2 separate regions of the Homo sapiens genome follow, and region 1 is linked to region 2. The links are contacts of gene promoters, found by promoter capture Hi-C in blood cells and fetal thymus (Javierre and others, 2016). All regions are on one chromosome and are shown on one strand. Each heading gives the region's core, a stretch centred on a gene start or on the middle of the fragment in contact. The rest is flanking DNA. Distances are from core to core; before and after follow the strand shown.

Region 1 (5,166 bases), core at 305-2,804, 410 kb after region 2:
AGGAAGGTACACCCTCCAGGAGCAAGCTTGTGCTCTCTCACTCTCTTTCTTGCCTTCTTTCTCTCTTTCTCTCTTTTTAAGTGAAGGTGCCCAAGTCTCCTTGTGGTTGTCAAATTTAGCAAATAAAGATATAAGATGCCTAGTTAAGGTTGTGCATGGTGGCTCACGCCTGTAATCCCAGCACTTTGGGAGGCCAAGGCAGGCTGATCATTTGAGGTCAGGAATTTGAGAACAGCCTGACCAACATGGTGAAACCCCGTCTCTACTAAAAATACAAAAAAATTAGCTGGACATAGTGGTGAGTGCCTGTAATCCCAGCTACTTGGGAAGCTGAGGCAGGAGAATCACTTGAACCCAGGAGGCAGAGGTTGCAATGAGCCAAGATCATGCCACTGCACTCCAGCCTGGGCAACAGAATAAGACTCTCAAAAAAAAAATGCCTAGTTAAATTTAAATATCAAATAAACAATAAATAAATGTTTAGGATAACTATGTCTCATGCAGCATTTGGGACATACTTATGATAAAACTTTTTTGTTTATCTATAATTGGGACATATTTATACTTAAAAATATATTTGTCTGAAATTCAAATTTAACTGAGAACCCTCTATTTTATCTGCCAACCCTAATTTACAGCATGTGTCTTCATCTGGGACTCTCTTTCTATTATTTAGAAGGAGACTTATTGTCAGGGGTCCCCAGGTTCATCTCTAGGTTTGATGATTCACTAGCATATCTCGCAGGACTCAGCACTGAGGCACATTCATGGCTGTGATGCATTACAGTGAAAAGGCACCAAGCAAGATCAGCACAGGGAGAAGGTGTGTGGTCCGGCGTCTGGAGGAAACTGGGCGCAAGCTTCCAAGTACAGTCACACTGAGCACACATGGTTCTTTCAGGATCTGTGACCACACATCATGTCAAGAGTTATCTACTAGGCTGGGCATGGTGGCTCATGCCTGTAATCTCAGTGCTTTGGGAGGCCAAGGCGGGAGGATCACTTGAGGCCAGGAGTTTGAGACTGGCCTGGGCAAATGAGCAAGACCCCATCTCTACAATGAATAAAAAAAAATTAGTTGGGCATAGTGGTACATGCCTGTGGTCCCAGCTACTCTGGAGACTGAGATGGGAGGATGGCTTGATCTCAGAAGGTCTGATGGTGACAAGGTGCTGAGGGGTAGAAAAAAGCAGATCCTAAGTCCAGGAGTTTGAGGCTGCAGCAAGCTATGATTGCGCCACTCCAGCCTGGGTGACAGAGTGAGACCCTGTCTCTTAAAAAAAAAAAGGTTATCTCATAGTGGGGTATACTAGAGATTCAGTACCCCAAATTCTTACTGGGGGCTGGTCGTGTAGACACCCTCTGCCTAGCACATACCAAAATTCTAGACACTCAGAGGAAAAGCAGGTGTTTGGGATAAACTGCTGGGCATGGTGGCACTTGCCTGTGGTCTCAGCTACTGGGGAGTCTGAGGTGGGAGGATCGCCTGAGCCTCCCCAGAACAGTGGGGAGCCACAACCTGTAAAAAGGTCACATGGTCAGGTGTGCCTAAACGATCCTTTTATTTATTTATTTATTTATTTTTAAGAAACAGGGTCTAGTTCTTTCTCCCAGGCTGGAGTGCAGTGGTGTGACAGTCACAGCTCACTTCAGCCTTGACCTCTTAGGCCCAAGCCATCCTCCCACTTTGCCCTCCCGAGTAGCTAGGACCACAGGCATTCAACACGACACTTGGCTAATTTTAAATTTTTTTTTTTTTTTTTTTAAGACGGAGTCTTGCTCTGTCACCCAGGCTGGAGTGCAGTGGCGCAATCTCGGCTCACTGCAACCTCCACCTCCTGGGTTCAAGTGATTCTCCTGCCTCAGCCTCCTGAGTAGCTGGGACTACAGGCACATGCCACCACACCCAGCTAATTTTTGTATTTTTAGAAGAGACGGGGTTTCACCATGTTGGCCAGGATGGTCTCAGTCTCTTGACCTCGTGATCCACCTGCCTTGGCCTCCCAAAGTGCTGGGATTACAGGCGGGAGCCACTGCACCCGGCCTAATTTTAAAAATTTTTTGTAGAGGTGGGGTCTTGCTATGTTGTCCATGCTGGTCTTGAACTCCAGGGCTCAACCCCTGTGCTGGGATTACAGGTGTGAGCTACCATGCCCGGCCAGGGCAGGGATTTTGTATCAGCAGTGCCTAGCACAGTGTGTGACTCATAGTAAATGCTTCTTGAGATATTTGTGAAATGAATGATGGGTGAAGCTTCTGCTCTATCTCCTGGAAACATCTAGCCTCATCCCTAAAGCATACTACTATATATATATTTTTTTGTTTGTTTGTTTGTTTTTTGTTTGCTTGTTTGTTTGTTTGTTTTTTGAGATGGAGTCTTGCTCCATCGCCCAGGCTGGAGTGCAGTGGCGCAAACTTGGCTCACTGCAACCTCTGCCTCCCAGGTTCAAGCAATTCTCCTGGCTTAGCCTCCCATGTAGCTGGGATTGCAGGCATGTGCCACCACACCTGGCTAATTTTTGCATTTTTAGTAGAGACGGGGTTTCGCCATGTTGGCTAGGCTGGTCTCGAACTCCTGACCTCAGGTGATCTGCCTGCCTCGGCTTCCCAAAGTGTTGGGATTACAGGCGTGAGTCACCATGCCTGGCCACAATAATATTGATCACGTTACTGTCTGCCTGGCACGGATCTGAGGAGCTTCCTTTTGAGTGTCACAGTGGCTGATTTTTCCTTTCCTAGCTCTCAAGGCAAAGAAGCATGTCAAGAAGAACAGGGGAGAGAGTTTTGAGAGCTATGAGGTGGCCCACCTCCGGCTGCTGAAGCTGGCTGAGAGTGGGAACCTAAACCAGCTCATTGAAGATTTTCTGGCCAAGGAGGAGAAGAATTTTGCTCGGTTCACGTATGTCACGGAGCTCAACAACGACATGGAGATGATGCACAAGAGGACCCAACGAATCCAGGTCAGGGCGGCTCTGCTTTCCCAGGCCCTGGGCCCCTGTGTCCACAGCAGCCTTTCCAGGGCAGTCTCCTAGGAAGGCTCTGTGAGAGGCACTACAGAAAGCAGTTTGGCCAACACCGCTCTATTCCCCTTACATTTTATGTTTGAGACAGGATCTTACTCTGTCACCCAGGCTGGAGTGCAGTAGTAGTGCGATATTGGCTCACTGCAGTCTCAACCTCCCAGGCTGAAATGATCCTTGCATCTCAGCCTCCTGAGTAGCTTGGACTACAGGTGTGCACCACCATGCCTGGCTAATTTTTGTATTTTTTGTAGAGTTGGGATTTTGCCATGCAAGGCTGGTCTCGAACTCCTGACCTCAAGCAATCCTCCCACCTTGGACTCCCAAAGTACTGAGATTACAAGTGTGAAACGTTGCACCCAGTGTCCCCTTACTTTTTATTTGTATTTTTTTTGAGACGGAGTCTTGCTCTGTCATCCAGGCTGGAGTGCAGTGGCATGATCTTGGTTCACTGCAACCTCCACCTCCCCGGTTCAAGAGATTCTCCTGCCTCAGCCTCTGGAGTAGCTGGGACTACAGGTGCCCGCCACGACGCCCTGCTATTTTTTTTTTTTTTTTTTGTATTTTTAGTAGAGATGGGGTTTCATCATGTTGGCCAGGCTTGTCTCAAACTCCTGGCCTCAAGTGATCCACCTGCCTCAGCCTCCCAAAGTGCTGGGATTATATAGATGTGAGCCACCACACCTGGCCTGTAATTGTCTTTCAATGTATAGATACATTTCATGTATTCATGTCCCCCAACCCAATAGTGACTTTATAATCCATGGCATGTTTTATTAACCAGCATTCAGTAAACTACAGTCCATGGCTATTTCTGTGTAGCCCATGAGCTAAGAATGATTTTTACATTTTTAAAGGATTGTAAGAAGAAAAAAAAAAAAGAGAGAGAGAGAAATATGCAAGAGGGACCTGCAAAGCTGAAAGTATTTCTTATTTGGCCCCTTACCTGACCCTTGTTAATCAACAGTTTCGAGGAGTGAGAACTCATTCTCATCTTGGCGAGACTTGATGCACAGGCCCTGACAAGTCCTGCAGTAAAGAAGCCTGTCTACCTTTGTTGAACCCATAATTTCCCAAATGTCATTGGCTTCCTGGGCTATTTACACACCAGTACATAAATAAACATCCTTTGGAACTGTCTGCATGGAATAGAGTCTAAACCCTTTAGTGTGACATTCCAGCCCCTTCAAAATTTGGCTTCTACCTGCCTTTGCAGACACAGGTCCTGTTATGACCTCCAAGACACCCTCTGCTGCTGCCAGCCCCAGCTGTCCCATGCATTTCCCTCCGCCACTGCCTTCCCGTGCTATTCCCTCTCCCTCCCCTCCTTTTCTCTTCTGATGAAATCCTGCTCATTAGTCCTGACCCTGCACAAATGTCGCCTCCTCTGGGAATTCATTAGTCCTTCTTCTGCAGGCCCTGTCCTCTGCTTACATGATGAGGGGAGCTGCTTTCCTTTGCAATATGTCACTGTTTCCCAAATGTGGGGCATGCACGCTGGCCATGTGCAAACAGATTGCAGCTAGAATATAGGTGAAAACATTTTCATTTACTAGTGATGAATTAATTTTTAAAGGAATAATAGAGCTTGCAGAGCAAACTTGTGATTTAATGGATATTTACTTAGGGTAGTAAGTAATAATAACAGTAAACAAAGAATAATAAACATAATGGCTTGGTTTACAGAAAACTATTATAGATAATAACAGTCCATGTGGCTGCAAAAAATGGAGTGAAGGTGACTTTATCAATTAGGGTTGTCACAGGAAACAGCACAGCCAACATGGGTAAATTGGCCAGGCACAGTGGCTCACACCTGTAATCGCAGCACTTTGGGAGGCCGAGGCGGGTGGATCACCTGAGCTCAGGAGTTCGAGACCAGCCTAGGCAACATAGTGAAACCCTGTCTTTACTAAAAATACAAAAATGAGCTGGGCATAGTGGCCTGCACCTGCAATCCCACTACTTGGGAGACTGAGGCAGGAGAATCCTTTGAACCCGGGAGGTGGAGGTTGCAGTGAGCCGAGATGGCGCCACTGCACTCCAGCCTGGGTGATACAGGGAGACTTCGTCTCAAAAAAAACCAAAAAAAAACCCACCCCAAAAAACCACCAAAACCCAAAAATAAAATGGGTAAATTGAGGAG
Region 2 (4,801 bases), core at 707-3,206:
TACATGTACATGTTTTTACCCAGAATAAGTCAACAGCTTAGAACAATGTGTTTGTTAAAGACTGAGGCCACACAACACCTCCACAGACTCTAGTGTTTCCACACTTCTTCTTTTTTTTTTTTGCGACAGTACCTCTGTCACCCAGGCTGGAGTGCAGTGGCACGATCACCACTCACCACAGCCTCAACCTCCTGGGTTCAGGTAATCCTCCCACTTCAGCTTCCCGAGAAGCTGGGACTAGAGGTACCTGCCACCAGGCCTGGCTAATTTTTGCATTTTTTTGTAGAGACAGAGTTTCGCCGTGTTGCCAAGGCTGGTCCCAAACTCCTGGGCTCAGGCGATCCGTCCACCTCCATCTCCCAAAGTGATAGGATTACAGACGTGAGCCACCACGCCTGGCTATGTTTCCCACACATATGTTATTTGATCCATATCTTCACCATTCTCACTGTATTTGAATGTTCCTAACATTCCCTTAATATTTGTTTACAAGAAAAAATTTTATCCCTACTGTAAACTGAAAACCACTTATATTTGACATAACGTGAAATTAGACATAAAATTATATAAAATCTTTAAATGTTCTATTTTTAGCTAAATACAGGTGCCTATTAAAAGCTCTGAGACTAAGAACTGCTCTCTGAAAAGACCTGGGGATTAAAGAAGTGCTGAAGATACACACTAGCACCGAGCACAACTTCTCCTAAATGCGAAGTTGAGAACTGAAAGAGAAATGAAAAGGGAACAATTTCCCTAACACATTATCTGATGCTCCTTAATGTGGGGTCCATGTACCACCTACCACCTAAAAGCACCTTAAATACCAAAAGTCCATGTCCCAAGTTCTGAGAAACAGTAATTAATGAGACCCCACTTTACCCTCCTGGGAGCGAGACAGGGCCGGATTCTGGAGTTGAGACAAAACTGGATTTATATTTTTTTGCGGGGCAAAGAACTTAATTAACCTTTCTGTATCTCGTTTTCTGTAAAATGAGAAAAATGAGATCTCTCTCACAGGGTTGTTGTAGAAATAAGCGAGGCGTTTCATCTGCTGCCTGGGGCTTAAGTATACAATAAATATTAACAACTACCATTATTTCCCTTTCAAAACAACAACAAAAAAGAACGTGAAGCCAGACAGCAGAAATGAGTTGCGTGGGGTCTCAGGGTTCCCAGTACACACACCCGCCGGCTCACTCCCTCAGGACCCAATCTCCCGCCTTCCACGAACTCCTACTTTTCTCTCCTTGTCCCCGCAGATCCTCACCTTCCCGCTGCCCGCGGGGCCCATGACCAGCTGCGCATACCGAGGCATGTTGGCTCCCGGAGCCGCCCGCCACACTCCCTTAGCCTTCGCGCGACGCCCACTGAGCTCCGGGAAAGTGAAGTGCGAACCAATCGCAATCCACATTCTTTCTACGCCTCCAGTTCTACCACACCTCCTACTACGGGGCAGCCCGCGGGCCAAATCCCGTGAGAAACGCGTCCTGAGAAAAAAGGGGAGGGGCGAGGGAGAGGATTTGCGCGTGCGCAAAAGTAGTTGATGGAAATCGGCCGTTGGGATGCTGTCTAAGCTTGGATACCTGAGTAATAACGGACAACAGATAAAGCTCCGCATCCTTGCGCCACGTGCTTCGGTCCGTGGTTTGCGTGCAGACGTTTGACCTGTATGGTGACCCTCGCGATTTGCAAATGTGCTGAGGATCTGGAATACTGAAGTGGAAGGCACCTCTTGTTTTGGGGAGCATGTATATTTCCCTCCTGTGACGCACTGCTTCCACAGAGAGGTGCAAACGTGCAAACGCTCAGCGACCGCAGCGCTCCTGCCCCTCCCCCACCGTAACTCCGGGGTCGCGGATCTGCCCGCCCCGCTCTCCCGAAGCTGTTCGGGCAGTGTCCGAACGGCTTCGGAGGGGCGAGAAGCCAGCATCCGAGCCGCCTCTCCGGAATACCAGCAGCCTGACGCACGCGTGCTGTCGGGGGAGGGATGCTGGGACAGCTGCTCCCGCACACGGCTCGCGGTCTCGGCGCCGCGGAGATGCCCGGCCAGGGTCCGGGGTCCGACTGGACGGAGCGTAGCTCTTCTGCAGAGCCGCCCGCTGTGGCCGGGACCGAGGGTGGCGGCGGCGGGTGAGGTTGGGGGCCCCGGGGTAAGGGTGGCAGCATGGGGCCCCCGGGTCGTGAGGCCCCCGGGTCGTGAGCCCCGTGGAGGAGGGCTGCGGCCGACCTCTCGTCTCGGGGGCTGGCCCCGGTGCCCTCAAGTGAGAGGCGGGGAGCAGTTTTGTTGTGGACAGAGGGCAGAGGGGAGGACTGCCTCGCGGTTGAGGGAGGGTCTCTGAGGGAAGCTTCGGAGGAGCGTTTGGTGCAGTGGCCACGAGGTGACTGCGACAGTCGCCCGCGTGCATCTCTCTGCCCCGAGGGGGCGCTGCGAGCCCTGCTGGGACGTTTGCTGTCTGGCACAGGACTGTGTGTCCACCGAAAGGCGAGGCGGGAGGGACAGAGGAGGAAGATGTCCCCCGGTTCAACTGGGGGCATCCAGGCCCATAAACCAGTTCCTTCCCTCTAGTGACATGAGCCACCTTCCTGTCAAACGGGGATTTCTTTTTCTTTTTTTTTCTTTTCTTTCTTGTTTTTTGAGAGCGAGACAGTCTCGCTCTGTTGCCTAGGCTGGAATGCGGTGGTGCGATCTCAGCTCACTGCAACCTCAGCCTCCCAGGTTCAAGTGATTCTCCTGCCTCAGCCTCCCGAGTAGCTGGGATTACAGGCGCCTGCCACCACGCCCGGCTAATTTTTGTATTTTTAGTAGAGAGGTGGTTTCACCATGTTGGCTAGGCTTGTGTCGAACCCCTGACCTCAAGTGAGCCGCCCGCCTCGGCCTCCCAAATTGCTGGGATTACGGGGTGAACCATTGCGCCCGACCTCAAACGAGGATTTCTAATCGCCAATGAGACCAATGACTGAATATCCGAGGTGCCTTGATCTTGACATTTTCTTCACACTGAAGTTCCTTTTTTCACAAATCTATTTCGTTTTGAGCAGGTTTTTACACCTATTTCCTAGATAGTGAAGACAGCGAGCTGTTGAAGTCACTGCTGGAGACTCTACCTCCTCTTCCTCTCCCTACTTTATTCCCTAAAAGCAAGAACTGCGATATGTTTGCCGTTCAGTACAACCCGCAGTCAGGGCCCCTGTTGCACCCATGGCCATCCTTTTTGTTTTTTTTTTTTTGAGACAGAGTCTCGTTCTGTTGCCCAGGCTGGAGTGCAGTGGTGCCATCTCAGCTCACTGCAAGCTCCGCCTCCCGGGTTCACGCCATTCTCCTCCCTCAGCCTCTGGAGTAGCTGGGATTACAAGCGCCTGCCACCACGCCCGGCTACTTTTTTGTATTTTTAGTAGAGACGGGGCTTCACCGTGTTAGCCAGGATGGTCTCGATCTCCTGACCTCGTGATCCGCCCGCATGGCCGTCCTTTTTGTCTCTGGTGCTACTGAAGACTTCTTAAAGATGGGATGGAGTCTTGGGTTTCTTTTCTGTTCTTCACAGTCCTTGGCCGACTGCAGGATCCTGGTGTATCAGGAGATACGTGAATTTTTTTTTTTTTTTTTATTGAGACAGAGTCTCCCTCTGTCACCCAGGCTGGAGTGCAGTGTCACGATCTCAGCTAACTGCAACCTCCGCCTCCTGTGTTCAAGCAATTCTCCTGCCTCAGCCTCCCAAGTAGCTGGGACTACAGGTGTGCGCCACCACGTACCTGGCTAATTTTTGTATTTTTAGTAGAGATGGGCATGAGCCTGTAATCCTGGAAGGTTCTATTATGATCCCCACTTTATGGATGACAAAACAGGCACAAAGAGGTTGTTTGTCCTTTCCTTTTATCTCCGCCTGTCGTTCATCTCCATGCTTCCTTTAGTTTATCCAAACTCTTAAAACTACAATTAAAAAAAAAGACAGTATGCCCTTCAGTTTGGTTTAAGGAACCCCATTAAAAAACACAAACCAAGACTAATTTATGAAAAGCTTATATTCCCAGAAATACAAAATAAAATTTTCAAACTAGAATCAGGTTTATTATGCTACATGATACAATGTTGGCACTGGCAGGGGTCTTAAAAATCATCAATTCCGGTCATATTTACTAATCTGAAAGGGGAAGTGATCTGCCAAAAATCCCATTATTAACTAATGGGAACTCCGGAACTCCTTACTTTTTTTCTTCTTTTTTTTTGAGATGGAGTCTCGCTCTGTCACCCAGGCTGGAGTGCAGTGGTGTGATCTTGGCTCACTGCAACCTCCGCCTCCCAGGTTCAAGCGATTCTCCTGCCTCCTGAGTAGCTGGGACTACAGGCACGTGCCACTACGCCTGGCTAAGTTTTTGCATTTTTAGTAGAGAACGGGGTTTCACCATGTTAGCCAGGATGGTCTCGATTTCCTGACCTCGTGATCCACCCGCCTCGGCCTCCCAGAGTGCTGGATTACAGGCGGGAGCTACCGTGCCCAGCACTTTTTTTCTTTAAAGTCAGGTTTATTGAGGCATAATTTACACAAATTAAAGTCTTACTTTTTCATGTATAATATGATGGGTTTTGACAAATGCACATGGCTATGTAAGCACTGCCACACTAAAGATACAGAGCAGCTCTATCACTCCTTCAAAACTCCCTCATACCTTATAAAGTCAACCTTTGAGAAAGGAAGACACAGGAGGGTTGCCAGCAGAGAAGTGATGTGATCTTACTTTACTTAAAAAGGATCACGCTGGTTGCTAGTTGGAGAATAAACTAGAAGGAGCAAGCGTAGAATTA

What was found. The method cuts DNA at HindIII sites, captures the fragments that hold promoters and counts their contacts. A CHiCAGO score of 5 or more calls a contact.
Region 1: a contact is called between a fragment that was not itself captured here and the fragment with the promoter of FAM216A in region 2, in 2 of 17 cell types (naive B cells and total B cells). The highest score is 5.6, in naive B cells.

Annotation. Positions count from the first base shown.
Region 1 is chr12:110,881,291-110,886,456 of GRCh38, forward strand. It overlaps CCDC63 (coiled-coil domain containing 63), which reads left to right. Exons shown (of 12, transcript NM_152591.3): 7 at 1-6; 8 at 2,740-2,960. Among named protein-coding and RNA genes, the nearest start is that of MYL2, 37 kb to the right of the region's middle. The HindIII fragment of the contact is 1,393 bases long and covers 859-2,251 here.
Region 2 is chr12:110,466,889-110,471,689 of GRCh38, forward strand. FAM216A (family with sequence similarity 216 member A) reads left to right here and starts at 1,957. Exons shown (of 7, transcript NM_013300.3): 1 at 1,957-2,130. The coding sequence starts at 1,988. GPN3 (GPN-loop GTPase 3) reads right to left here and starts at 1,369. Exons shown (of 8, transcript NM_016301.4): 1 at 1,268-1,369. The coding sequence starts at 1,315. It overlaps LOC124903016 (a long non-coding RNA gene), which reads right to left. Exons shown (of 3, transcript XR_007063459.1): 2 at 3,751-3,928; 3 at 3,401-3,563. RefSeq lists enhancers at 1,481-1,610, 2,531-2,700 and a silencer at 2,021-2,330. The HindIII fragment of the contact is 771 bases long and covers 1,573-2,343 here.